7 separate regions of the Homo sapiens genome follow, and all the other regions are linked to region 2. The links are contacts of gene promoters, found by promoter capture Hi-C in blood cells and fetal thymus (Javierre and others, 2016). All regions are on one chromosome and are shown on one strand. The core of a region is centred on a gene start or on the middle of the fragment in contact, and the rest is flanking DNA. Distances in the headings are between cores, read along the strand shown.

Region 1 (4,176 bases), core at 1,022-3,521, 210 kb after region 2:
GCACCACACCCCCACACAGTGCCTCAGTGGGCACCTGTACGTACACTCCATGAGGTGGCTATTCCTTTAATCCCTACCATCTGCTCCAAAATGTTTATCCAACAGTTTGCCATGGTGCTTGAACTTCTATCATTTGGGTGCCTCTTTGGAACAGGAAATTTAACTCTGTCTGGTGACCGTGCACAGGATTTATAGCTGTTGAGCCTCAGGAGCCATCAGGAACTGAGCTTGCTTTCTTTCCTTCTCTGGCCCTGCCCATTCACTTTCTGTCCAAGAGTGGCCCTAAACCAGAAGAAACCTCCCAACTCCCTTCTCCTGATAGTCCCTAAAGACCACACACATGGTCTGCTTCCTTATGAAAGGCTCCACTGCCAATCACTGCAGTGATACTGATGACAAAGGATGGCAACAATAACAAAGCTAGGCAAGCTTCAAGGGCTCCAGAATCTTACTCAGGTATCTCAGCCACGAGCCCGGGTCTAGGGGGACTGAAAGGGACTTTGGCCACTGCCATTATTCTTGAGAGTGGAGCTCTCCACCCAGTGCCTGAAAGTAAAGGAGATGCGGGTTCAGCCCATTCTCCACTTTGTAGGCGTGAAGATGCAGCAGAGGCAGAAGAACAGCTGCTGCCCTCAGGGACAAGTGTGCAATTTCTACCTAAGAGGCCTCTAGGCTGCGTGATGTGCATTTCACAGGTTCTCGGCCTCTACCTCTTGATGTTCCTCACAATGTCCACTAAAAACTGTGTTTCTAATTAAAAATAGAATTACCATAAGATCCAGCAATTTCATTATTGAGTATATACCCGAGAGAATTGAAATCAGGGACACAGACAGATATTTGTACACCCATGTTCATAGCAGCATTATTCAAAATAGCCAAAAGGTAGACACAACCCAGTGTCCTTCGACAGATGGATAAACAGGATGTGGTATATACATACAATTGAATATTATTCAGCCTTAAAAGGGAAGGAAATTCTGATAAATGCTTCAACACGGATGGACCTTGAGGACCTAATGCTAAGCAAAAAAGCCAGACACAAAAGGATAAATATTGTATCACTCCATTTATATGACGTACCTTGACTAGTCAATTTCACAAAGACAGAAAGTAGGTTAAGGTTGCCAGGAGCTGGGCAAGGGGTCACTGGGGACCAATTTTTTGATGGGTACAGAGTTTAAAGGGCAAGATAAAAAGAGTTCTGGAGATGGACAGTGGTGATGGTTGCACAACTATGTGAATGTACTCAATGCCACTGAAATGTACACTTAAAAATGTACATTGTAAATGGTAAATTCTGTTATGTGTATTTTATCACTTTTTTAAAAGTACCTCTAATTTTTTAAAAATCTGTTCTTATAACATTTCTAACCAGAGCCAGGTTGCAATCAAATATGTTTTCAAGTATACCAATTTGAGAAAACTCATTCCCCACTCCTCACACTCCCTAATGGAAGAACCTCCACCAGGGAAACCCCCTACCCCCACCAAACTCTCTCAGTTCTAGGCACTCCTCCCCAAGGGTGGGCTTCATTCAGATGTGCCTTTGTCTCTCCTTAGAATCTGCTGGCCACCTGGGAGGTGCATACTTATCTGATCTCAGGGGCCTGGATGCTTCCACCCAGAACCCACAGGGGAGGCCTGCACTTTGGCAATAAGTTTACATCAGGGGCTGTTAGCAAGGCAAGCACATGTGGGTGCATGCCTGACATCAGATTCTGTTAGTAATAAAGCTGATAGTTTTATTACCATCTTCTTGACTACTGATAATAAGGAGATGAGATCACGGTTATCAGGACCTATGAACTTGGAGAAAAGTCTTTAACCACCGAGTTAAGTTCCCTCTAATTCTCTTTATCAAGAACTTTGATTCAGAACCAGGCCAGAAAGAAAAAAGGTCTTATTCATTGATTCCCTAAAATCCAAGCATGACCAGTGTTAGACCAGAAAGTGAAGTCCAGGGTTTTCCGCTGGACCTAAGTTTCAGCAGCCTTGTCTAAGGAAGGTGGTTACTAAATGCTGGTTATTAAGCTATTGTCTCTAGGATCTAAATCTACCCTTTTGCACTTGTTTTGTGATGCTGGATCCAGGACTCTGGTAAGCATATTTCTCCATTGCCAGCTTGCTCGCTGTCAGGTTCTGCTGACAGGGATGTTGGAGAGAGACTGGAAGGCAAGAGAAGGAAGAACTGTCCTTCCTATCAGCTGGCTACTCCTGGCAATAGGCCCAGGAATGGTCCTTCATCCTAGCAGCAGGTTGTCCCAGTCACCAGCTTCTTTTAGCGCCCTCAAAACAAGCCTCATGACACCTCCTCAGAAGGACCGTGTGAGTGAGGCAGCACCCACTCTACAGAGATCTGAGCTCTGCAGGGCCCCTCCGTGATAAACAGAATCAGTCAGAGGGGGACTTAACTCAGTGGCTAAGGACTTTTCTCCAAGTATGGAGGTCCTGATAACCCTGACTTCATTAACCCTTTATTGCCCTAGCCAGTGGGGTGGGAGGGAGAGATTGTTTCCTGCCCTTTTTTCGTTGTTATATCACTATTGTCTTGTTTTGCTTTTTTTTAGTCCACCAATAACTATTTAATTTCCTATATTAAACATTTCCTGTTAAATACCTAGTGTGGTTGCTGTTTTTCTGACTGGGCCCTGAGTACTTTCTGGGGTTGAGGTCCATGGCAGATAGCCCTTAGGGTGACTCTCATGACTCCTGTCTCTGGTGTCCATGGCCTGTATAATCTCTTCCTTTTGAGTGGAGGTGAGACGTGTTGACGTGGGTCTACCCATAGAATGTGGCAAAGGTGAAAGGACTTTGCAGATGGAGTTAAGGTCCCAAAGCAGTTGACTTTGAGTTAACAAAAAGGGAGGTGATCTGGAACGAGCCTGACTTAATCAGGTGAAAGACCTTGAAAGAGGAACCCTGGCCCTCCCTGAGATTGAAGAGATTCTCCTTGCTGAAGTAGCAGCCATTCTGAGGAAGCCTCCATGGAAAAGAACTGAGAATGGCCCCCAAGACCAGAGGAAGCCTCCAGCTGACAGCAAGCAAAACCCCAGGCTCTCAGCCATACCACCACAATAAAATAAATTTGGCCAACAACTTGAGTGAGGTAGGAAGCAGATTTTCCCCCAGCAGAGCCTCCAGATGAAAACTTTGGCTGAAGTTTCAGTCCAGCTGAAGCCTCAACTGCAGTCTCATGAGACTCTGAGCAGAGGACTCAGGTAGACCACACCTAGACTCCTGACCCACAGAAGCCAAGTTGATAAATGTGTGCATTGTTGGGAGCTGCTTGATGTGTTGGTGATCTGCTATGCAGCAATAGAAACTAATACAACATCTAAAGACTTCATATGAGGCAAACTAAACACTGTTCCAAGTACCCATGAAAATCCCAGAAGAGCTGACACCAACAGCCCAACACAGCCAGGTTTTTTCTTCCAGATTGGGACTTACAGTACCAATCAAAGAAGGTGGCTTTCATTTAGGAACCATGTGGTTCAAAACTACAAGTGTTTTTAAACATTAGAATCACACTCAGCATACTAAGATATCACACAAGATAACTGAGATTTAGGCAAAGCCGATTTGCCTCTCCTTCTCACTCTCATTCTGTGGTGTATATTCATTGAATGGAATAGCAGGTGGAGATTCTCTTACTATTTAAAGTGTTCTCTTGCTCACCGGGCACACTGGCACATGCCTGTAATCCCAGCACTTTGGGAGGCCAAGGTGGACCTCCCACTTGAGGTCAGGAGTTTGAGACCAGCCTGGCCAACGTGGTGAAACCCCATCTCTACTAAAAATACAAAAATTAGCCAGATGTGGTGGTGCATGCCTGTAATCCCAGCTACTTGGGAGGCTGAGGCAGGAAAGTCACTTGAACCTGGGAGGCAGAGGTTGCAGTGAGCCAACATTGTGCCACTGCACTCCAGCCTGGGCAATAGAGACTCCATCTCAAAAAATAATAATAATAATAATAATAATAGTACAGTGTTCCCTTGCTCAATACATAGTTGGGTTTGCTTAAGTTAAACAAGCATATAATGTAATTCCTTATTTGAGATTTTGTGTTTGCATTTTTAAATTAATAAGACATTTGTGATAAATTTTGGAGAAGCTTCTTTTACACTTTAAGACATCTAGTTTAGCCAAGACCATATTGAACCTGCCCATAGT
Region 2 (4,015 bases), core at 330-2,829:
GGGAGGGCTGGTAACCTTGATAGGAATTTATGTAGGAAATGAGAGTGCAAACAGGAAGGGCTTAATGAGGGCTGTGATTGTCTGGAAGGAGAAAAAGGGGAGATTTGGCACCTCCTGGAACCTGGGGAAAGTAATTGTCTGGGTAAATGGTAAGTGTATTTCCCACAGGGTCAGAGCAGGCTTTGATCTTTAGGAGAAGACAAATTGCTTTCCATCTTGCTGAAGCCAAAGGCTTAAATGGTCAGACGTGTGTCATAGGTGGGTGCAAAGGGAAGGAAATATAATACATCCTCATGGCCAAGTGCCCTGGGCTTGGATCACTGTGTCCTTGGCCAAGTTAACCAACTTCTTTAAGCTTCCAATGATTCATGTACAAAAAAAGATACAAAAATACCTTTCACATGTGGTTCTTCCAGAAAGCGCTTGGCACAGGGCCTGGTACATAAACAAATTCAATAAGGGTTAACTATTTTCATAATTACAGTTAGTCTGCATCGCTAGAAGCACATTATTCAAATGAGGATATGGACTGGTCAGATGACAGTGGAAACGGTGTTCAGATCTAGGGGCCCCCACCTAGTAAGAACAACACTAATCAACTCTAGCCTGCCCAGGGGACAGTGACCCAGAGAACTAGGAAACCTTGAAAAATGAAGAAATATGAAATACTAATAAAAATTAAGAAAACCCACAAGCGTTTAACCCAGATAATATTTGGGGACATGAGGGGGTTATGTGAAGAGAAAACAATGTTCCATTTAACTTTAGGAAATGGCGATATTATTAAAGATTTTGGAGGCATTAGTCATCATCCTTTGGTCAAGTTTATTAACCTCTCCAGTGCCTCTGTTTTTTCATCCATAAAATGGGATTCACTAGATCACCTATCTTATAAGATTACTGTGGCAATTAAATGAGTCAGTATGTGCTAAGTGCTTAGAAGACTATCTAGCACATAATAAATGCTCAATAAGTCCTGAGGAGCAACTGGATTGACAGGAGAAGTTGGTGCTGGTTATTATTATTACTATAATTATTACCCTGGGTAAGTTTTTAATAGTTCCAGCAATGAAAAAATGAGAATAGCCTCCTTGCAGCAGTAATTCCCTCTTACTGGAACAGTTCAAAAAGTCGCTGATAACGACCAGTCAATCATTAGAGAGGAGACTCCTCGTCCTGGGAGAAAGCCGATTTGTCATCTCTTAAACCCCAGGGCATCCAGCGTGAAGGAGGTAGAACTAGGCCGGCCCGCGAGGAGGCAGGGGCAGGCGCCAGTGACGCAATGACTGCAACATGCCGCCAGGGTGCAGCAGAGCCCGACCCCGGGTTGTTCCATCCGCAGCAAACAATTCCTAACTCGCTCCAGGTCTTCCTTCTTAGCTGAGTGGGTTGAACCCCGTGGAAGTAACCCCCCGCCCATTATGATGATCCAGCCAATCACCGCGTGATCTGCTCGGACGGGGCGGGATCGCGGCGCTTCCCTCGGTCGCTCAGAGACTGGGTTCCGCGTTCCAGCCCCGCCCCAGGTTCTGGGCCAATCCCCGCGGCTGGGCAGAGCGACCCGAGGGCGGCGCCCTGCAGACCACGTGGCCCGGGAGGCGCCGAGGCCAGGTAGGTGGTGAGTTACTTGGCTCGGAGCGGGCGAGGGGACGCGTGGGCGGAGCGGGGCTGGCCAGCCTCGGCCCCCATGACCCGCTGTCCTGTGCCCTTTCCCAGCGATGGGCGTGCAGCCCCCCAACTTCTCCTGGGTGCTTCCGGGCCGGCTGGCGGGACTGGCGCTGCCGCGGCTCCCCGCCCACTACCAGTTCCTGTTGGACCTGGGCGTGCGGCACCTGGTGTCCCTGACGGAGCGCGGGCCCCCTCACAGCGACAGCTGCCCCGGCCTCACCCTGCACCGCCTGCGCATCCCCGACTTCTGCCCGCCGGCCCCCGACCAGATCGACCGCTTCGTGCAGATCGTGGACGAGGCCAACGCACGGGGAGAGGTCAGCGGGCGGGGTCAGCGCAGGGAGGGAGGGGCCTGGAAGGTCAGCGGGGGACACGGGCGGAGCTGGGGAGACCGGGCCTGGGATAACTTAACTGGGCTCGGGGAGGCAGACAGTAGGGCCGGGAGACTGGGAAGCCAGTGCGGGGGAGGGAAGCGCTAAACGGAAGGAACTAAAGAGAGGGCGAAGCAGTGCGAACTGGGCTTGAGGAGAGGCAGTGAAAACCAGCTAATACTGTGAGTTGTGAAGGAGAAGGGTGTGGACAGACACCTGGGAGAGGTGGGGGTTGAAGTCAGGTGGAGGCTGTTTACCATTTTCTAGAGTAAAGCTGTCCAAATATAATGGAACCTAAGTGGCTCCATGTAATGTTAATTTTTCTAGCAACGGCATTCTTAAAAAGCAGGGAAGCAGATAAAATTAACTTTGGTGATCTTAATGAGATATTTTCATTCTTTTTTCTACTACCTCTTCATACCCTGTTGCGTTTTTCACACTACATCTCAGTTTGGACTAGCCACATTTCGAGTACAGTAGCCACAGTAGCCGTGGCTACTGTCTTCTGTATTGAACACCACAGGTGGAGGGCTGTGTAGAGGTGGACAGCTCTTGAACCAGCCAGTGCAGAGGCCTCCTAGCCACCTAGTGCAGGGACAGCCCTCCCTGACTTTGCTGCAGAGCCCTGGACCTGGCACAGAAGAAGGAGCTGTGGGGAGAACCAAGTGAGGGGCAGGAAACAGTTGTGGGTGGGGGAGTTGAGTGGCACCCATCGAGCCCCCTCTTCGTAGGCTGTGGGAGTGCACTGTGCTCTGGGCTTTGGCCGCACTGGCACCATGCTGGCCTGTTACCTGGTGAAGGAGCGGGGCTTGGCTGCAGGAGATGCCATTGCTGAAATCCGACGACTACGACCCGGCTCCATCGAGACCTATGAGCAGGAGAAAGCAGTCTTCCAGTTCTACCAGCGAACGAAATAAGGGGCCTTAGTACCCTTCTACCAGGCCCTCACTCCCCTTCCCCATGTTGTCGATGGGGCCAGAGATGAAGGGAAGTGGACTAAAGTATTAAACCCTCTAGCTCCCATTGGCTGAAGACACTGAAGTAGCCCACCCCTGCAGGCAGGTCCTGATTGAAGGGGAGGCTTGTACTGCTTTGTTGAATAAATGAGTTTTACGAACCAGGGCACGTTGCATGGTACTTTATAAAGCATTCCCACACATTAACTTACTTCAGCCTCACTGTAGCCCTGTGATACAGGAAAGACAGATGGGCCATCTCTGTTCTTTGGATGAGGTGGGCAAAGCTCAGAGAGGCCCATCTTCAACACTTCTAGAAAGTGGAAGGATGGGCCAGAACAGCAACACACGTCTTCAATCCCTTGAAGATGCTGAAATGCTATGTATCTGTTCCCTGACAATATTTGATGTGTTTTCTGGGGGAGCTAGTCAATGAAAAGGATTCAGGTCCAGAATAGCCTGGCCTCCTGGCATTCCCAGGTCTCTGATGCTCACAGGCCAGGAGGCCCCTCCGTGTAGGCCCACCTGCTGCACACGTGTCACCCTTGTTTATCTGGGGGTAGAGACAGCCTGGATGTCACACTCACAGATAACCACCATCTCCACCTCCACAGGGCTGGTCACCTCTTACCAACCTCAGGTGCTGCTCAGCTCATCTGGGCTCTCTGGCTCATTCTGCTGCCCCACAACCTCAGGCCAAAGGACCTGAGAACAGAGCCAATCTAGGCAGTTATGCAGAGCAGATATTTAACAATTAAATGAAGAGTTCCAGGGCTCTAAATCTTGGCCATGTTTCTCAGATGTTATCTCCAGTTATCCCCTATTGGACCCCATTCTGCCCCCTTGTTGGGCCCTGTTTTGCCAGCACCACTACACTTTTGACTTATGAGAAATGGGAAGAATGGCATATATCCGCCCAATGGACTCTTTACTGTAGGTCTGCCTGTGGTCTTTTCTGCAATAGCAGGCTGAATAAGATAGAAATTCACCATAAAATATGTGAGTTCCTGTACGTACCTG
Region 3 (4,265 bases), core at 1,758-4,257, 180 kb before region 2:
AGAATGCTCCTGATTACAAAGCAGAGAAATTGACTTTTTTTCTTAGTGTTTTCTATAGTCATTGCTCTATCCCTGTTCTAGAATTCAAGTCATGATAAGAATTTCTTCACGTTGACTTCCTGCATTGCTTTCAGACATTGCAATTAAAGAATGCGAAGAAAGAACCTCACAGAGGTAACAGAGTTTGTTTTCCTGGGATTCTCCAGATTCCACAAACATCACATCACTCTCTTTGTGGTTTTTCTCATCCTGTACACATTAACTGTGGCTGGCAATGCCATCATCATGACCATCATCTGCATTGACCGTCACCTCCACACTCCCATGTACTTCTTCCTGAGCATGCTGGCTAGCTCAAAGACAGTGTACACACTGTTCATCATTCCACAGATGCTCTCCAGCTTCGTAACCCAGACCCAGCCAATCTCCCTAGCAGGTTGTACCACCCAAACGTTCTTCTTTGTTACCTTGGCCATCAACAATTGCTTCTTGCTCACAGTGATGGGCTATGACCACTATATGGCCATCTGCAATCCCTTGAGATACAGGGTCATTACGAGCAAGAAGGTGTGTGTCCAGCTGGTGTGTGGAGCCTTTAGCATTGGCCTGGCCATGGCAGCTGTCCAGGTAACATCCATATTTACCTTACCTTTTTGTCACACGGTGGTTGGTCATTTCTTCTGTGACATCCTCCCTGTCATGAAACTCTCCTGTATTAATACCACTATCAATGAGATAATCAATTTTGTTGTCAGGTTATTTGTCATCCTGGTCCCCATGGGTCTGGTCTTCATCTCCTATGTCCTCATCATCTCCACTGTCCTCAAGATTGCCTCAGCTGAGGGTTGGAAGAAGACCTTTGCCACCTGTGCCTTCCACCTCACTGTGGTCATTGTCCATTATGGCTGTGCTTCCATTGCCTACCTCATGCCCAAGTCAGAAAACTCTATAGAACAAGACCTCCTTCTCTCAGTGACCTAAACCATCATCACTCCCCTGCTGAACCCTGTTGTTTACAGCCTAAAGAACAAGGAGGTCAAGGATGCCCTATGCAGGGCCATGGGCAGAAACATTTCTTAATGCATTATTCCTCTATATAAATATACATTTAGTCATAGAAATGTGTGTCCTTACTTACATTAAACAACCTTACGACTCTGTCCCATGCAGTCTATGCTGCAATGGGATGTGCATGTCTTGCTTTGGTATATTTACTACAAAATCTTAGTCTCTGTTTCCATATATTTCAAAGTTTTGTCCAGGCATTTTCAACTAGGGATGTGAGAGGTCAAGGAGAATGGGCATGATTTTTAGGAAAGAGCATCCAAATTTCTAGGATGAAGAAAGGGACTTTTAAAAGTATATTAAATATGATTATATTGTGTTTAAAAAATAAAAAGCAATGTGTCTCATTTTTGTAATGCAATCTACAGAAAATAAAACTACAAAATCATCGCAGCAAGGTAAGGATAGTCAATAATGATGGATTCCCTTGAAAGAAAATAGTATCAGAATTGTCAGGGAAAAGTGAGATGAGCGTATTAAATTTAAAAAAAAATAGGAAAGTTGGAAAACACTGGCTTAGTCCTTGAAAATTTAGTCTTTATTATTCAATTTATGCTAAAGCCTTTGCTTTTATCCAGTGTAGTCGTCAGATGCTGGCCATGGCCACAGATCATACTTAACTCTCACCTTTCTAATCTAAATTCCCTAATTGAATTCTTTCTGGCTGCTGGTTCTCTCCATGGGATCAACTTCTCTCTAATCATTATGAAGAAAAATTGAGTTGGTCAAGAAGATCTGTGCCCTGTTAGAATAAGAACCATAAAAGCTTTCCTCATTTGCACATACCATGGCACCTCCTGGTAGCATAAAGAAACAAAAGTAGAACAAAACAAACAGTCCCAGCAGTCAGGAGTAGTTCAGAAGTATAATTGTAGAATCACTCAATTCACCAAAAAAGGCTAACAAGAAAAAAAAATATTTTTCCTTAGTAGACTCCTTTGAGAAAAATATCCTTTTTCCCAGGGCTTTCTGGGAACTTTTTTGGTTTCATGCCTATACATACCTTCTATGTGGTTATCTTGGGTGATGGGTGATGGTAGGGAGGGTTTAAGACTTTTGTTGAGTGCTTCCTTCTACTAAAATATTTTTTGTCAAGAATACTTCTCTGCTCATTCCCTAATGCCATTTTTCTTTTTTTCAAGACAGTCATTTTTTTCCTTTCCCTCCACTGAGAAAGAATCGATAACATCCTAAGGAGCTCATCTCAGGTAAAGAATATCTTTACAGATTTCTGAATTCTAGATTGGGGAGACCATTGTTCTTTCAAGGTCTGACCAGTTCTTTCTAATTCCTGTCTTGTGTCTTTGCAATTTCTACATCATAGAAACAAGGCTTCCTACAGAAGCTGTTGGGGGCTCAAAGGTTGGGTCCAAGAGTCTTGGACATGCTATGAGGTCTTTCTTGACAGCACTCTCAGGGTCATCCCACTACAGATCTAAACCTCTATGCCCAACAAGAGTGAGGCAGATTCCCTCCAGAATGAGAGTGTCTCTCCTGACAGTATGAAAGAACCCCTCCCACTGCCATCAAGGCCACCTGTACTGCCAACTCTTAATTATAACCTGCCCTTCTCAATTCTCTCTGGCTAGCAACTACTTGTACATCCTCATACCTGTCTTTTTGTGTGTAGAAGGGAAGAGATGAGACAGAGAGGGCTGTTCTGAGCAGGAAAGTACAATGATGGAAGTTGGGTGGTGATCAAACCTGTTCTATCCTGCTCCAGTGGCAGTGGCCAACTCCCACTGCCCATTACTCTCCTTTCTACTTCTGCACACAGCCACTCTCCTTCATTAGTTCATGAATCAAAGACAAAGGTTTCTCCAGTATTGTCTCTACATCTAAATGCTGCAACAGCAGACATACCACACGCCACTCGTGCAATCAAAAGTTAAATGTCACAGCGGGGCCCACAAAGAGCTGGCAGAAAATATGAGTCATAAATCTTGAAGGTGAAATATCTTTGTCTCTAACTCTGTTACCCACAATGGTTCAATCATATGTCCAGTTTTTTTTAAATAAACATGTGTGCTTCTAATTTCTTCTTGACAATAAGATGTTGTCTTACATGGTGGATAGAATAGAGGTCCCAGAGTCAGATGGGTGCTGAGTTCACTTCCTCACTCAGCACCCATCAGAACCTTTTTATGAATATAATGTTTTTAATTCTGCCTCGCTTGTCATCAAAAGCATTTTTTAATCTCCTTACCCATTTGTTTTGCACAGGCTGGTATCCAGTGACAAACCCTACTTCACATTGTTTTCTGCAGTATCATTTACCTCACTCCCACCCAGCAGTTAGTTGTTCTCTCTTAAGTGTTCCTAAAGTTATTTTTGGGAAATTACATGAGTTTAACATTTTTTTCATTGTGCTTTTCTTGCTTGTTTCTATCACTGGATCACAGGCATATTGGGATCAGGAACTGCTTTCCTCATTATGATACCCCTGCATGGAACAGCACCTGGAGAGTAGGTGTTCAATAAATCCTCACTTAGAGGTTGAGTACCTACTATGTACAAGCACCATGCTTGGACTTCTCAGCGTGTCTTGCTGAACTAGACACATCTGCTGTCTTTGTTTGTTCAAGCTGCTTTAACAAAAGACCAAAGAGTGGGTAATTTATAAAGAACAGAAATTTCGAGCTTACAGTCCTGGGGTCTGGGAGGTTAATGACCAAGGCACTAACAGGTTCAGTGTTTGGTGAGGGCATAGTCTCTACTTCCAAGATGGCACCTTGTTGCTGCATTCTCCAGAGGGGATGAACACTGCTTCTCATATGGGAAGAGATGGAAGGGCAAAAATGGACCTATCTAGTTACTCCCATCCCTTTTATAAGGTCACTAACCCATTTATAAAGTTATATGGTTTGGAAGTCCCACCCAAATCTCATATTGAAATGTAATCCCCAGTGTTGGAGGTGGGGCCTGGTGGGTGGTGACTGGATTATGGGGATGGTTTTCTCATGAATGGTTTAGTACCATCCTCTTGGTACTGTCCTTGAGATAGTGAGTTCTCACGAGATCTGGTCCTTTAAAAGCGTATGGCACCTCCCGCCTCACTGTCTTGCTCCTGCTCCCACCATGTGAGACGCCTGCTCCCCCGTGAACTCCCACCATGACTGTAAGCTTCCTGAGGCCTACCCAGAAATAGATGCCCGTGTTATGCTTCCTGTACAGTGTGCAGAACCATGAGCTAATTAAAC
Region 4 (3,761 bases), core at 79-2,578, 200 kb before region 2:
AGACATATAGACAATGACCATGATGAGGTGGGGGTTGGGGGACACAGGTGGCAAAGACCTCAGATTAGGAAATTCTAAGCACGATGGAGGTAACAGGGATGTCAATATAGGAAATGCAAACCAAACCCATGGACACCTGCACACATGTGTGGTGAATAAAATACTGTTTATTTCATAGATAGTATTGTCAATGCAGGAGAGTTTCATGACAAGAAGGGTGTCAAACAAGAAGCAGTCTAAATAGCATATGTGCTCCTTTTGTACCTCTGTGACACTGTGGTTATTTAGACCACTGTCATGATCAGGCCAATGCAAAAGGCACCACACGCCAGCTGGGCACATGCCCTCTTATTCACAAAGACTGTGCACTCCAGGAATTCCCAGACAAATACACAGCAGTCAATGGTGGTCAAGATGGCAAAGATCATTATTTGTAATTCAAAAGATAAATGCTTGAGGGGATGAATACCCCATTCTCTATGATATGCTTATTTCACAGTGCATGCCCATAAATATATACACCTACTACATACTCATAAAAATTGTTTTAAATCTTAAATAAATTTTTTTAAAAAAGAAAGAAAGAACCCAGAAATTAAAAAAAAAATGACAAAGACCAAGAAAATCTCCTGGTTCTGAGCTATGAGACTAGAAAGTATTGTAGAATAAGGATGAGTGTATAAAGTCACTGAACTAACCAACACTCTCAGGAAAACATACATGACCAATGTGGGTGAGACTCAAGATGATGGCATTCCCTGCTGAAGTTAAGATGTGGATGACATCATTCACAGAAGCTGGAGACAACCAGCAAGGTGAACTTTGTCAGCTTCTGTGAGGTTCTTTCTTTGTATTTTGAAGTTTTAGGGATAACAATAAAATAGATCAGCATAAGAAAACTCTTGTGCTGCCATGTTTCTGTCATGAGCAGAAACATGGCATAGTTGACAAGATGACAAGAGTAGCGCAAGACAGCTCTAGCCAAGACCTCTTGTAGCTGCACGAGCAAGGAATCTGCTTCTGCATCTTCAGTGCATGTATTCTCTATCACTGTGGACTGGAAAATATATTCCTAGACACAGAGAAGGGAACTTTTAAACATACTCAAGATACAGAGTTACACTGAGTCCCTGCTGTTACATTTTTCTTCTTTGCACATCTCCTCCCAGAAGACTCAGGTATTATGAAGGGATTGTGAACAGCATGAAGATGGTTGTGGCCAGTGGGAGTCTGAATGGTAAATTTTATTTAAAAATTTATATTTAAAAAATGAATAAACATTAATCTCAGCAATGAAATCTATATTTTATAAAACTATAAAGATGGGTTGTTCAAAAAGAAGTGTAAGAGTGAAGGGATGTCAAGAAAGATAAAGACTAAGATACAGATATGGTGACATTCCAGAGAGCAGTTTCAGGTGAATTCTGAACTTAAAAGTGAGATTTCAGTGAGGTAATATGGTCGAGGTGTCTCACTAAACCTAAAAGTAGAAGATAAAAAAAAACTTAGCAGAGATTTTCTTTTATAAATGAACCCTGAAATTAGGAACAGAGAAATGAGATCAAGAAAAGACTCTTGTGTATCAGCATGACCTGGAAAGTGACTGACAAATTTGTGAAGCTGCCAGAATTGTGAAGGGGAGTTAGGAGTTCACAGCAGCCTGAGCCTGGCATTTAGAGTCTGAAAGAGCTACTTTGGTAGAAAGGTCAGTCATAATCTCAGGTGGACACTGATTTTTCTCTGTTGTTGGCTGAAATGTTATTAGGTAGGCAACAAAGACATGATAGCCACTCTGTCAAGAAGAGACAATCTATAAACTGTGTGGGAAATATGCATTGAATCCCAAGTCTCCTGTGGAGAATCTTGTTTCTCTCCTTTTGTTCTTTGTCAGAATTACTGAACCTTAGGAAACAAACTCCCTTCCTCTTTCTCCCTCCATCATTCCCTGAAACTTGGCTTCTGACATGCTCACTTTATGAAAATTACTCTTTCAAAGGTTACGACTGAAGTTTTTATTGCTAAATCCAGCATGCATTCAACTTAGATCTCTCTGATGCATTTAATACCACTGGATACTGCTTCCTGGACACTTACACTGACTTGGTTTCCATGACACCACACGCTATCCTCTCTGCCAAACATAATTTTTTGTCTCCCACCTCCCTCCCCACCTGCCATTCTTATCTTGCCTCTAACACCATGAATGTGAATGTTTCCTCAAGTCAGTGGTTGGCTCCCTGACCTTTCCTCTCTTCTCTTTTCCACTGAAAGACAAAATTCATTTTTGTTTCATTATCATTTATATGTTGATTTCTCTGAAACCTGTATTTCTAATTCCAAGTGGCCGTCACATATTACAAATTCTCCAAGACCTTTCTTACACATAAGTCATACTATCATTTCAAATTTAGCATTTGAGGAACCAAGTTTACCACCTACCCTCCACCTCCTCCAAGTGAACATCCTCTCAATTGTCCTATCTGTACTGGCAGCACCATATTTTTTTTCCACATGATTTGCAGTAAGAAATATGGTTCCATATTCTATATATATATTTTTAATTCTCATCTTTGTCCTTTTTTGCACTTACAATAAGACCCTGCCATCAGTCTAAGTTGTGTATCTTTGGTTTTATCCAACCACATATCAGAGTGATAATCAGTTACTCTTGATGCATGCCTCCATTGCCTCTTTCCATCTAAATGCTCTCAAATTCCCTTACAACTGACAGAACACACAGCAAATAATTCTTTACTGAACACAAATCTTGTTCTACTCAGTCTCTTCCTATCCAGTCTTTCCCATTGGTTACTGTGACTTAATGTCTTCTACAAACACCTGAGGTCTCAGAAACCATCTTTAGGTTATTCTTTAATCCCTCAGGTGATCTCCAGTTATATCTCATACTTCTGCTTTTTTGAAGCTCCGAGTCAGATCCTCTTTCTGCTACTGCTGATGCCTTCTTCCACTATGCTCTCTGAGGGTAAACTTTGTTGCATGCCAATTAATGTAGCCAAGACAACTCTGTTTGTGGCACACAGGTGGACCTGTTTCTCTTCAGCATACTGTATCTTTTCTTCCCCCAGCCTCAACTCTTCCATAGCCATCCAGACAGGAGCCGCCACCTTGACCTGAACTTTCACTGGCAGGATGGCACCCAGGAGGATCCAGCAACAGTGAGGATTGGCTCACTGTGAGGATTGCACCCAGTTCTGAAGACCCAGGATTCATTTTCCTACATCCTGACATCAGAACTTTTCCTTTCTACAATAAAAATAATTCTCAGTTTCCTCTTTGACAACTCTTGAAGTGCAGGCTGTTCTCTTCCAAGGCCTGAGAAGCATATTCTGGGGAAGGAAACTAGACAACAGAATCAGACTCCACTTTTTCTCCCTTTTCCAATTATACTGTAGACCCTACCTTCCAACCAGGGTTTCCTTTTCACAGTGTATAACACAACATTTTCATATTCAACTGCAAACCCTTGCACTTGGCCCCAACAGCTATCTAAAGCCGTTATCTCCAAGCTCTCCCACCATGAGTCTAAGGCTGTGTCACTTATCCCCAAGACCTGTTCCCTAGGCTTATCTCCCATTAGAGAAGACTCTCTTTGATATTAATTTGCAAACCATTTTTTGTTAAGATAATGATTATTTATTTATTTATGAAGAAAACTAGAAGCATCTGGTAAGCCCTGTGTTCTCTGAGTTTTATGGCACTTATTAATTAACATCTGGAAATGTTAGGGAATTGCATAGTCC
Region 5 (3,977 bases), core at 1,285-3,784, 150 kb after region 2:
CCATCCAGTCTCTTAGGGACCAGCTCTGGGGGATCCCAATGCAGGAGTACCCCCCGGGGTGTCCTCACTGCCACCAGACCCCGCGGAGGGGACAGGGGAGGCGGTATCTCTGTTGGGGGAAGCCCGGGTGCAGCTGGCGTGGTAGGAAGCCCTGCGTGGGACAGAAAGGCAGGTCAGAGCAAGGATTCCCAGCGCCCCTCCCCTGGCCTTCCACAACTCCCAGTGCCCAACTCTTCTCCCAGAACCCCTGAAGACAAGCTCAAATCATCTTCCACACACCCCTCTGGACCCCAAGCTGGCCAGCACCTCTGCCCCTTCCCACCCAGGGCCTCCCATATCCCAGCTCTCCCAGCAGCCCTTCCCCATCCTTGTCTCTGCTGTTCTGGGACGAGAAGCTTCTCACCTTCCGGAGCAGACAAGACGATTTCGCTGAAGGGACCACTCCCCAGCTTGTTCTGAGCTAGCACGCTGAACTGGTACTGGGTGTGGGGCTGCAGCCCTGGCACTAGGAGGTGAGCAGCCCCCACAGGCACTGCCAAGGACACCCAGTCATGGTGCATTCGGTCAGGACGCTTGGCCCTGGGAGACATGAGGACATGGGGGGCACCTCGTGAGCTAGGAAGACCAGAAGATCTGGGGTCCAGAGATCTAACCACCTCCCCTCTGCTCAACCATCCAAGGTCTCAGGACCTTGGCCCTGAATGCCTCAGAATCTGGAAACAGGGAAGCAGAGCCAGGACTGGTGAGGGATAGAGGGACAGAAGAAAGGGCAGAAGGCCAGATAGGTTCAAGGAGGAGAGGAAAGGAGGCAAGATTGGCACAGAGAAATGGCAGGAGCAGGTCACTCACAGTGGGGTGTACCAGACACTGAATCTCTGCAGATAACCACCATCAAAGCCAGGCTCCCAGGAGACATTGGCACCCTTGGGCAAAGCCACCACGGACACATTGGTGACAACATGAGGGCTAGTGCCTAGGCAGGGGGGAATGGAGGGATGGTGGTCAGGGCCTGAGGGAGTGTACAGAGTAGCAGGGGCCCCAGGGCCACTGACCTTCACCCATCATCATCCCAGGGGTCCCACACCCATGATCCTCTTTCTGGGCCTCCAAAAACGATTCCCAAGTAGTTTCTCCCAGCCCCTGGCCCTCTCTCCAGCCACTAACCCAGCACGTAGACGTTCGTGGAGGTGGCCACTCGGGCCACAGCATTGCTGGCACTGCATTCCCAGTGCCCGTGGGCCTCCTTGGTCAATGGTCGCAGGATGAGGCTGCTGTTGCTGTCCACCTGGGCCTGGCCTTGCAGCCCCCGGCCCACCTACAGAACCACTGGTGAGCCCTGAGGACACACGCAGCCACCCCTCACCAAAGGCGCCCCTCATCTCTCCAGGCAGCTCCAGTTCCTCCCCACCCTGCCTCTGACAGCCTTCTCCTTCCCACACCCTCCCTCCCACAAAATGGCTGGGGCACGAGAGGCAGGGGTGTAGTGGGCGTGGGTACAGGCAGAGCGGGCTCAGGAGCCTTACCTTGGTCCAAGAGACAACAGGAGGAGGGTCCCCTTGGGCGGAGCAGGGGATGAGCAGCTCCCGCCCTACTTCTTGGAAATATTCTTCCTTGGGCCGCTCTATAAAAGCTGGGGGAGCCTGCAAGCCAGATCTGGCATTGGGAGGGGCCCTCTCTTACATCTAAGGCTGGCTACTCCCTCTCTCTGTGCTCCCTGTCATGCCATGTCTCACCTCACTCTCCCTCACTCCCCCTAGCTAAACACTCACCAAGCCTGTCTCTACCTCATTCTCTCTCCATCTCTCAATTCCTCTCTGGCTCTGTTTCTGTTCCCCAGTGGGTAGGGGCTGGAGGAAAATGGTGGTGTAGTAAGGGCTGGCAGGCTTAGGCAGGACTCTCAGAGATGTACAAACCTCTGCAGAACATTCTTCCTCCCAGAGCCCCAGAGAGGGAGGCAGCACGGTCAAGGTTAGTGAGAGTTGGGGCAAACAGGATATCTTACTTCTGGATGTGTGTGACTGATGTCCCACCTCCCGAGCACCACCTCTGCAGAAACCTCTGGGATGGCATCAGGCAGCTGCTGCCGTGGCCACCATGGGAAACAAACTTGGAAACCCCTCCCCATGTGTCTGCCCCACCCCACCCCCATCAGCCTGGCCTTAGCACCATCTCCAGCCATCTGACCCACTGTCACCACAGGCCCCCGCCCACCCCCGGCCTAACCTTGAGCAGCACGCGGGTCACAGGAGAGGGCCCGGCGGTACCAAGACTGTTGTAGGGGGTGCAGGAGTATTCTCCCAGGGCATCCTCGTTCCCCAGGGCGATGATCAGTGAGCCTTCTGTGCCCTGGGACCAGCCAGGGAACTGGAAGGAAGAGAAGATGACAGCTAGAGAGAGGAGCTCAGCAGAGACAAGCCCGGGATGGCAGTACAAGAGAGGGGGCAGGATGAGAAACCCACAGCTGTGCAGAAGACTCCAGCAGCTCCATGTCTAGGCCTGACCCCTCTCTGATTTCCAGTGCTTCCTTTCCTTCCTGCAGAGGGACCCCTCCCAATAGTGTGAGGCTGTGACTGCACAACTCCAGGGGGTGCCACTCACAGAAAATACACTGTGAATGGCCACCCCTGTAGTTGGGCCGCGTGGGGCTTCCTGCCTGCTGGGACTTCACCTGGCTCTCTTCCCAGCACTCCACAACTAAGTTCAGAGTCTTCCACCCAAAACCAGCTCCTATTTCTCTATTAAAGGGCCCGCCATCCTTCTTGCTGAAGTCTGCCTCCTCACGTTCCCTCACTCCCCCTGGTGAAATACTCACTAAGCCAGTCATCCTGGGAAGTCCCTTTTGTCAGAGCATGAGCCCATTCATCTTCATGTCCTCTGTAAATCAGACTCCATAACTCTCACCTGGGCCATTTCAGCAGCTTCAGAACCCCTCTTCCTATGTCCAGTATCTCCCGCTACATTCCACTGGGCAAGCTCAACCCCTGATCACAGCTCTGATCCTATCACACCAATGCTCAACAAATTCCAGTGGCTCCAACTGCCTGTAGACTTTTTTCTTAAATATTCAACAAAGATATACTGAGTACTATTGTTGTAGAAGCCCCAGGTACACTATGATGAAAAGATGCAATACTAGGCCTCAAAAATTTATAGTCTCTGCAGACAAAAGATCCCAATTGCCTTGGAATGAGGCAATAGTAACTTGGCATCCAGTTCTTCCTTTTGATGCTAACCTGTCTTTCCAGCTTTCTCTGCACCATTCATGTCCCTGCAGGCACTCCGGCTCCCACCCAATTGGACGATCCATGATTCCATAAACGTACTATACTACTTCCTGCCTCTTGACCCTGGTTTCTGCAAGGGAATGACTGTGTCCTCTTTGAGGCCCATCACCAAAGTCCCAGAATCTGTTGCTGGTCTATCCTCAACCACCCTAAGAGGAAGGCACGAGCTCCATCCCTGGCCTTCCAGACAGTGTTGCTGTCCTCTGCCCAGATGGTGCCCACTTTAAGGATGGATGCCTCCTTGCCCCTGCCCTCAACCCACTACCCCACACAGCACCTGGTAAGAAGTGTGTGTTCCCCCGGGACACACAATTTCCCAGTCATCACACGAAAGAAACTTCAGTTCTCCTTCTTGACTCTTTGCCATCATTTTCCCCAGAGATCATCTCTCTTCTTTCCCCAAAGAAGACACAAAACCACCACTTTAAACCATGGAAATTTTTCCTCAGGGGTTTTAAGTAGTTTCCTATGCAACATGTCTTATAACACAAATTAAATTCACAAAAGATGTGTGTCCCCAGTCACTGAACTGAATTAAACCGAGCTAACTCCACCCTGCTGTCCTGAGCAGAATAACGCCAAGCTAAGACCCTCCTTCCCCTGCCCCAAGCCTGTACCTTGTCCAGCTGCAGGGCCTTTCCATCCTTGGTCCAGCTGACAAAGAGCAGTGGGGGGTTGGCACGAACCGGGCAG
Region 6 (3,705 bases), core at 62-2,561, 170 kb after region 2:
ACTTATCCCTTTATCGCAGTGTGCATGACTTTGCAGGCCTTAGAACTACTGTGCTCTTTCACATACCAGTGTCTTAGCACTTAGCTTCTGTCTCGATAGAATGCCCTTTTCTCCTTTCCAGACTCACTGCTGGCCACAGGTCAAATTTCTGTTGATCTGTTCCCTTCAGGACACATTCCGTGACTTTTCCCACCACGCCCTCACCTTCACCCCAGCCCTTTTCCTACCTTGTTATTGTATCTTTACACACTCCACAAAACATTCCTTGAAGGCAGAGGTGTCTCTTCTGCCTCCCCAGTGCTTGCCAAGTTCCTGGCATATTGCAGAGGTAGCGGCTTGTGCCTCTCTGAGTTTATATTCAACTTTCTTTAAGATCTCATCCTTCCTCTTCCAGAAGCTCGGCCTCTTTTGAGGCCTCAACCCTTCTCTGCTCAGAGATCGGCTGTAAGAAGAAGGAACTTTGCCAACTTCCAGGGAAATCCCTGGGCCTATCATACATTCATTCCTTTATTTATTCATCCTTTTGTTTACTTTCTATGAATTCAATCCTGCAATAACATGAGAAATGAGCTGCCTCTTTATGTGCAAGATGGACTCAAGGTGGCCTTTCCAGTCAGTCCCCATCCCTGCAGTGGTGCCTCCTAGGAAAGATATAAAAGGAATCAAAGGGATTGGGGGCTGCTGGCCTTTTTTGGAAGCAAGACTGCTCAGGGCCTAAGGGAAGCCCAGAGAACCAGCCTCAAGAAGGGACTGCCTTCCAGAGGGACAAGGGTTCAGGCCCTCAGAAAGTAGAGGGGACCAGTTTACCAGCACTAGGAGCTCTTGGGGCTGGTTTCCCAACCTTACTACCTCCTTCCCAAGCCCCAAGGGGCTCCATCTCCTGCACAAATACCTAGGGAGACCCCTACTCTTGGCTTCCAGCCCTGCCCCACGCCGCTCTCAAGACTCTCCTCCTGGGTGGTCCTGTGCCAGCCCATGTGTTCTACTTTCCTAAAAGGAAGGTATCCTTGGTCTCATTGGTTGCCCAGTTGAATGCATTCCACTGACCCCTGCACATACTTCTTGTTCCTTTTTTAGAAGATACTTTGGAGATCAGCATCCTCCCCCTCAAAAACAAAGAGGAAGAAGAGACCCACAGCAATGTTAGGCATGCCTCCTGCCATGCGGCCCTCTCCCCACCCTTCAGACACCTCTTCTGAAACTCCCCAGGGCCCCCAACCCACCCTGTCTCTGTGGCACCAAGTCGCTTGCCTAACTGTGTCTCTGTAGGAGCTCCAAGCTGCCTCTCTGCCTGCTTCTCTCTTCCAGTGTGCACTTCTTGGAGAAAGAGGCTGTGGCTCAATGGAAGTTTGCTGAACACAGGGTCACAGGCCAGAGGCGAGTAGCAGATCAAAGCCCAGAGCTCCAAAATGTCACCTAGGCTCCCAGCCATACATCACAGCCTTCACCACTTCCTGCAATTCACCCACTGCGTACACCTGTCCTGTCAATTGGGTGTTTTCTAATTCTCTCCCCAGTCCTCGCTTCCCCCTAACCCCCTGCCCCATGGCAACTGCATAAGTAACATCCACAAGATCTGATTTGGAGGGAATACTAGAGACTTGGGCAGGGACACATTAGGCCTGGGAGGCTGATCATTGGTCTAGGGAAAGAGCAAGAACATAAACTTAAGGGCCTTTGCCAGGGAGTTGGGGGTGGGCATTAACCCAGGACAAGACTCCAAAGAGAAGGCCTAAGACATGGAAATCTATAGGCAGGGACACAGGCAGGACAGTAATACTAATCACAAGCAGAAGTCAAGGCTCCACGATCTCGGCTAATAATCCAGCATCCCTATGGGGTAGACGCCAGAGGCCCAGAGCAACTGGCATCAGGGAGATGACGGAGAGGTTGCGAGCTCAACTCAGACCCAGGGTAGGTCTGAATGAGGTCCTTCCTACCTCCCTATTTAGGAGAGCTTCTAGACTAGTCTGGGATGGATGGAGTTGTTAAGCAAATGTATCTGCCAGGATGAGAGTGGGGTAAGGGAGCAGAAGAATCTTAACAGGAATAAGGCCACTTTTATGCAGGATTCAAAATGCCTGAAATTCTCAAGTCACAGGTTCAGTTAGGTTCAAAGAAATCTCTCACATTTCTTATCTGATGAACAAATAGCAAGCATGTTGGTGGAAAACGGGATAGGTGGTGAGTGACAGCATACCAAAACTTCCCTGTGAGGGGGCCCTTTAGACCCACTCTTCTCCCCAAAGGAGGGCCTGAAAAAGCACGTGGACTTGGGGGAAGGCACTGGGAGTTGGGGCAAAGACAGCAGAGTGGGTTTTGCCAGAGCCACCCAGTGAGGACGGAAGGACCCAACACAGCTCCTGCAGAGTTGTGGTCACTTAATTTGACTTTATTGCCAGCCAGTCTTCCCTCAGAAGTATGGCTCTCTGGATACCCACCCCTGAGCACCTCCTTCCCCTGGAAAGAAGAGAGCTGAGGAAGGATTCTCTGGGTGCTGGGAAGAAACCAAGCTCAGGACTGGGGTTCCCAAGGAGCAGTCAGGCAGGGCTGGAGCCAGGCTTTGCCTCCTTCCTCAATTTCATTCTGTTTCTCATGAGTTTCTTCATCCTTGGCATTTTGTGTCTTTTCTGGACTCGGATGACCCAGAGTCCCATGGCCAGAATTACCAAGAGCAAGAAGATGAGCAATCCCTTGGCCAGGAGGCAGAAGGCTGTTGAAGGCTTCTCAGAAGCATAGTTAGGATCTGGGGTGGAAGAAAGGAGGAAAGGGCCCATCAGTGGTAGGGTTGGGGTTAAGATTTGGGCAGACTCCTACCCAAATTTCATGAAGGGGTCTCAAGTTCACAATCAGTTGAAGTCCCCTTGCAAGTGTCTCTGGAAATATATTCTATGCACAGAAGCTCAGGAACTGAGATCTAGGAATCATTCTGAAGCCAAGCAAGAGAAAAGAAAAGACCTTTGGAAGTTGGGGGCACTAGAAAAACGGAGGGTCTCCTCTCCAATCCAGGTGTCAAGCCTCCATGGGAGGGGGTTAGCTTCTGAATTCCCTGGGCTCTCTTGGGAAGAGCTGGGGGAGGGAGATGGTGCCTCTAGGCACTATCTTTCATGAGCTCAGGGGGTGTCTCAGGGGTTCTGGTACCTGCATAGAAGGGCCCATCAGGGATGGGGCAAGAACTGACGTTGCTGATGGGGTTGTTGGCTCTGCAGGTGTAGGAGAGGGCACTGTCCCCCGGCCTCCAGGATGTGCTGAGGACAGGGCCTTCATGGAATGTATAAGTGCTATCCCCCCGGGAGAGCCAGCTGTAGGTCATATCCATGCCTGCCTTCTCCACAGAGCACACCAGGGACATACTGCAGGCACCTTCCCCAGAACTCTCAAAGTTCACAGTGATCTGGGGCTCTGACAGCCATCCTGGATGAAGGGGAAACACAAAGACCCTCTAAACAATCAGGGATCGGGTCTGTTTTCCTAAGCTCCTCAAACCTGGGGTACTAATGCTACCCCTTGACAGCCCCTGCACCTAAACAACAAATAGGCAAAAGCAAACAAACCCAACCACCATAAAACCTGTGGTTTCAAGGTCCCCAAGGCAACTGTCAAGGAAGACAGAGCTGCCTTTGGCATCTTCCACCTCCCCTTTACGTATTCTCTCTCTTACTTTTGTACTCTACCTTCCTCCAAACCCCATTCTGTCTCCTTGAT
Region 7 (3,798 bases), core at 951-3,450, 240 kb after region 2:
TAGGTGTATTTTACTCTAGCTACTGATTTATAACTGAGTTATAATCCTCTTTCCACCAGTCTCCTATGGCACTGGTGAGTTCCTTAAAGGCAGGACTCTAGTCTTAACCATCCTTATACCCCCAGGCTAGCTGAGTGCTTGGCACAAAGTAGGCTCCTAAGTATTTACTAGATGAATGAATCATTGGTTGGACAACGTTGTTCCTGAACTCCCTGCTTTCTAGAATCCAGTGGTTCATCTTCTGTTCACCATAGCTAAATGATAAGGGTAGTACAGAGAAATGAGTAGTACATTTAGCTCCAGAAGATCTAGGGTCTATTCCTGCCTCACATACTAACTCTGACCTTGGGCAAAGTGCATATACTCTGAGCTTTAGGGGTCTCATCTGTGAAAATGGAATTTTAAAAAATTCCCACATCACAAAATTTGTGAAAGTATTTTGTATCATTACTAAAATATAAGTTGTTTACATATATGTTTCATCTTCCTTACATATTAACATGTGCTCAGAAGCCAGAGGAAAAAAATAGGTTGGGCTCAAAGTTATTGCATTATAAGCCAGTAAAAATGCTAATGTTAACTGTATTTTTCAACTAGCATTCATGTCGTTCTGCTGGATAATGTGAATTAGATTCTGGTTGCTCCTTGCTCACTCCAACTAGTAATACTTGCCTTACTGTTCTTTAAACCTGCCAAGCTCATTCCTAACTCAGGATCTCCGCACTGCTTTCACTCAGCAGGGAGGGATGCTGAGTGAAATGCTCTTCCCTTACCTCCCTGCACCATGGTTGCATGAAGGTCATGCATTCACTTCCCAGGTCTTTGTTCAAGTGCCCTCTCATCACAGTATCTTCCTAACCAGTTCATCTAAAGAAGCACCTACTCCACTCTCCGCACTGCCATCACTCTCTACTTCCTTAGCTTGTCTTATTTTTCTTTATGATATATCATCATCACAATCCTGTACTTGCTTATTCTTTGCCTCCCCATGAAAATGTAAGATCCATAAAGATAGGGTCTTTGCCTCCCTCTCTCACTCACTGCATCTACGATGCCTAGAACAATGACTGGCACACAGAAGATACTCATGGCATTTTGCTAAGTAGTTTGCTAAGTGAATGACATTTGCTAAATAAGTGAGGTTTTCCACTGTAATCACCTGTCATTGTATAGCACTAAAAAGGACTTGCAAAAAAAAAAGATTAGAATCAGAAGATCTGGGGTCCCACCCCAATCCTGCCATTAACCAGCTATTTGGCCTTGGAAAGTCACTTGTTTCTGAGTTCAGTTTTCTTATCTGTAACATACAAATAAAAATATCCTCTACCTTGCCCTACTGCCCCTCCATTTCACAAATCACATCATTGTGGAACTTAATGGGGTGTTATATAACACTTTATCAGTGGGGTATGTTTCTGTTTCTGTTTTTACTGTTAACTCTCCAAGAGCATAAACTGTCTATTCATCTATTACAGAACTTGACACAGGGCCTGGATCTATAAATAACTGCCAAAAAAAATGAAGAGCAAAGGTTATACATTTCCTTTGTAAAAAGAACTGAGCTTCAAATATTCATGCTCCAAATTATTTTTAAATAGTCACTGTAAGTGTCATTTCACTTTGTCTAGCAGACATAGCAATTAGCAGAGTGCCTGAGCAGCTATAAATGTTCTCATTTAGTCTGGTTTTTGTTCAGGATAATGAATATAAATGCTTGTTTTGACTAAATGAATGGTTCTCCTAGGCCAGTGCTGAATAAATGCTTGTGCTATTGTGACGCTTCTGACCCAGGCAGGAGACATGTGCTTCCATCTCCAGAACAGCAACCCCTGAATGACCCCTCGATACAATGGAGAAAAGAAGTGCTGTGTAATTTAGGGGCATAAACCAAACCTCCACTGCTTAGAGTCAGCTTAATGTCTGACAGAAATATACAAAACTGTAAAGCCTCAACCAGACATCTGAATAATCTGTCCATACATTTTTCACATATCAGTATTTATTATCTTTTCAAAGGAACAGGTCAAGATGAGAATAAAGTTTATGATCAAAGGTAGTCAAACATTTATTTTATATAAATATAATTTCCTTGCCTATATCCATTAGATTTGGGGAAAAAAGGTTCAAGTTTACAGTGCCAGAACAGCTCCTTCTTTAAAGGCTTGTAAACAGTGACTTGTTCTATGCCAGCATGCACACTTTGAGCATATCAACTCACTTAATCCTTACCAACAATTCTATGAAGATTGTGCTATCATTCCCATTTCACAGATAAAAACTAATGTATCTAGATATGATAATCTTGCTCAGGATCATGCACTGGGATTTGAACCTAAGTGATCTATTCTCTGATGCCGTACTATCAATGCAGTACAATTTTTAACTGCATGAATGCACACTGCAGAGCAACAGCAATTGAACAATGATCATTTGCCTTTTGGAAATTATGGCCACATACTTTGTGTAGCTTGATTTACAAATAGCTTGGCTAAAAAGCAGTTCAGCAAATCAACTTCTTAAAATAGGCTATGAAGGAAAAGTGCATGATGAAGCCAGCAGTAAACAAAGAAATTACACAATTTGGTGAGAGAGGGTTTGGAGGTGGAGGGGAGTTGTTAAAGGCCTGGAATCATTGAAAAGTTTGGGGATGACAGTGACTTGGTACAACTGAGAGAACTGCCCCTCAAAAGATTAGAAGGACAATTGATTGGCAAGAGACACTTGACAGAGCCAGTATTGAGTTCCATTTATTTTGGAGCAGTATGCATCTGCTGGGTTTGGGTACTCTGGAAAAATCCAAAACATAATATAATGGAAAAAGCATGGGTAAAAATCACTTATTAGCAAGTTGTTTAATCTTTGAGCCTCTTCGTTCATCTATAAATTTAGAATATGAATATCAACTTTGAAGTGTTGCTGTGAAAATTAAATAAAACCATATATGGCGGAATAGGTGCCCAAAATTGGTTAATCATGAAAAATTTACCATCATCAAGATGTAAAATAATTAGCTGTTGTTGTTGGGGCAGGGCTTGGAGTTGGGGGTTGGATATTAAGATTCCAAACCTGTATAATCTTTTATCTGGAAAACCTACCAGATAAAACAAAGAGATTACCACCCCCATGTTTTTAGGGAGAGAGACAGAAAGTATGACACACAAAAGAATTAATTTGTTCAACTTTGATGGAAGGTAAACCCCTTTAGTTCTCACTTTGTTTTTAAGACTAGGAAAAGATTCAAACTTCTTAATTATGGATTATCCACCATGTTCTTTCCTTCCTCGGAATCTTTGAGATCCAAGAACGTCTGTTCTTTAAGATGTAACAAAAAACACCTGAAGAAATTTGAAAATGACAGAATGTTAAATCATAATAGATAGCAGAATTATGGTTTTGTAAGAAAATACCTGATTTTTAGGAGATGCATGCTGATATATTTAGTGGTGAAGTTCAATGATGTTTGCAACTTCACATGGTTCAAAAAATTTTATAAATATATAATTATACATATACATAAAGCAAATATGGCAAATTGTTGTTGAATTTAGATGATGGCAATATGAGTAGTGTTTAAAATAGTTAGGTCAGGCGGGGTGCAGTGGCTCACGCCTGGAATCCCAACACTTTGGGAAGCCAATGAGGGAAGATCACTTAAGTGATCTCCCTCTTGCAACATAGCAAGACCTCGTCTCTACAAAAAATAAAGATTAGCCAGGCATGGTGGCAAATACCTGTGGTCCCAGCTACTTGGGAGGCTGAGGAGGAAGGATCACTTGAGCCTGGGAGTTCGGCTGCAGT

The links. The method cuts DNA at HindIII sites, captures the fragments that hold promoters and counts their contacts. A CHiCAGO score of 5 or more calls a contact.
Region 1: a fragment that was not itself captured here is called in contact with the fragment with the promoter of DUSP23 in region 2 in 1 of 17 cell types (naive B cells); the score reaches 5.4 in naive B cells.
Region 3: a contact is called between a fragment that was not itself captured here and the fragment with the promoter of DUSP23 in region 2, in 1 of 17 cell types (endothelial precursors). The highest score is 5.1, in endothelial precursors.
Region 4: a fragment that was not itself captured here is called in contact with the fragment with the promoter of DUSP23 in region 2 in 1 of 17 cell types (M2 macrophages); the score reaches 5.4 in M2 macrophages.
Region 5: a contact is called between a fragment that was not itself captured here and the fragment with the promoter of DUSP23 in region 2, in 10 of 17 cell types (naive CD4 T cells, non-activated CD4 T cells, total CD8 T cells and 7 more). The highest score is 10.6, in naive CD4 T cells.
Region 6: a contact is called between a fragment that was not itself captured here and the fragment with the promoter of DUSP23 in region 2, in 9 of 17 cell types (naive CD4 T cells, total CD8 T cells, non-activated CD4 T cells and 6 more). The highest score is 12.9, in naive CD4 T cells.
Region 7: a contact is called between a fragment that was not itself captured here and the fragment with the promoter of DUSP23 in region 2, in 11 of 17 cell types (non-activated CD4 T cells, activated CD4 T cells, naive CD4 T cells and 8 more). The highest score is 10.1, in non-activated CD4 T cells.

The regions. Positions count from the first base shown.
Region 1 is chr1:159,985,133-159,989,308 of GRCh38, forward strand. No RefSeq gene overlaps it. Among named protein-coding and RNA genes, the nearest start is that of LINC01133, 26 kb to the left of the region's middle. The HindIII fragment of the contact is 3,688 bases long and covers 428-4,115 here.
Region 2 is chr1:159,779,383-159,783,397 of GRCh38, forward strand. DUSP23 (dual specificity phosphatase 23) reads left to right here and starts at 1,580. Exons shown (of 2, transcript NM_001319658.2): 1 at 1,580-1,985; 2 at 2,771-3,161. The coding sequence starts at 1,719. The coding sequence ends at 2,956. RefSeq lists a silencer at 1,515-1,904 and an enhancer at 1,896-2,472. The HindIII fragment of the contact is 4,062 bases long and covers 354-4,015 here.
Region 3 is chr1:159,598,148-159,602,412 of GRCh38, forward strand. It overlaps the pseudogene OR10J6P. Among named protein-coding and RNA genes, the nearest start is that of APCS, 12 kb to the left of the region's middle. RefSeq lists an enhancer at 1-713. The HindIII fragment of the contact is 2,357 bases long and covers 1,830-4,186 here.
Region 4 is chr1:159,581,795-159,585,555 of GRCh38, forward strand. It overlaps the pseudogene OR10AE1P. Among named protein-coding and RNA genes, the nearest start is that of APCS, 4.2 kb to the right of the region's middle. The HindIII fragment of the contact is 6,308 bases long and covers 1-3,761 here.
Region 5 is chr1:159,930,289-159,934,265 of GRCh38, forward strand. IGSF9 (immunoglobulin superfamily member 9) reads right to left here. Exons shown (of 21, transcript NM_001135050.2): 9 at 3,902-3,977; 10 at 2,224-2,364; 11 at 1,524-1,640; 12 at 1,165-1,315; 13 at 850-973; 14 at 404-579; 15 at 1-151. Among named protein-coding and RNA genes, the nearest start is that of TAGLN2, 6.8 kb to the left of the region's middle. The HindIII fragment of the contact is 4,282 bases long and covers 394-3,977 here.
Region 6 is chr1:159,949,121-159,952,825 of GRCh38, forward strand. It overlaps SLAMF9 (SLAM family member 9), which reads right to left. Exons shown (of 4, transcript NM_033438.4): 3 at 3,142-3,414; 4 at 2,372-2,746. The coding sequence ends at 2,541. The region is part of intron 2 of LOC124904438 (a long non-coding RNA gene); the gene reads left to right. Among named protein-coding and RNA genes, the nearest start is that of SLAMF9, 3.3 kb to the right of the region's middle. The HindIII fragment of the contact is 4,904 bases long and covers 1-3,705 here.
Region 7 is chr1:160,022,972-160,026,769 of GRCh38, forward strand. PIGM (phosphatidylinositol glycan anchor biosynthesis class M) reads right to left here. Exons shown (of 1, transcript NM_145167.3): 1 at 1,982-3,798. Among named protein-coding and RNA genes, the nearest start is that of PIGM, 7.1 kb to the right of the region's middle. The HindIII fragment of the contact is 9,782 bases long and covers 1-3,798 here.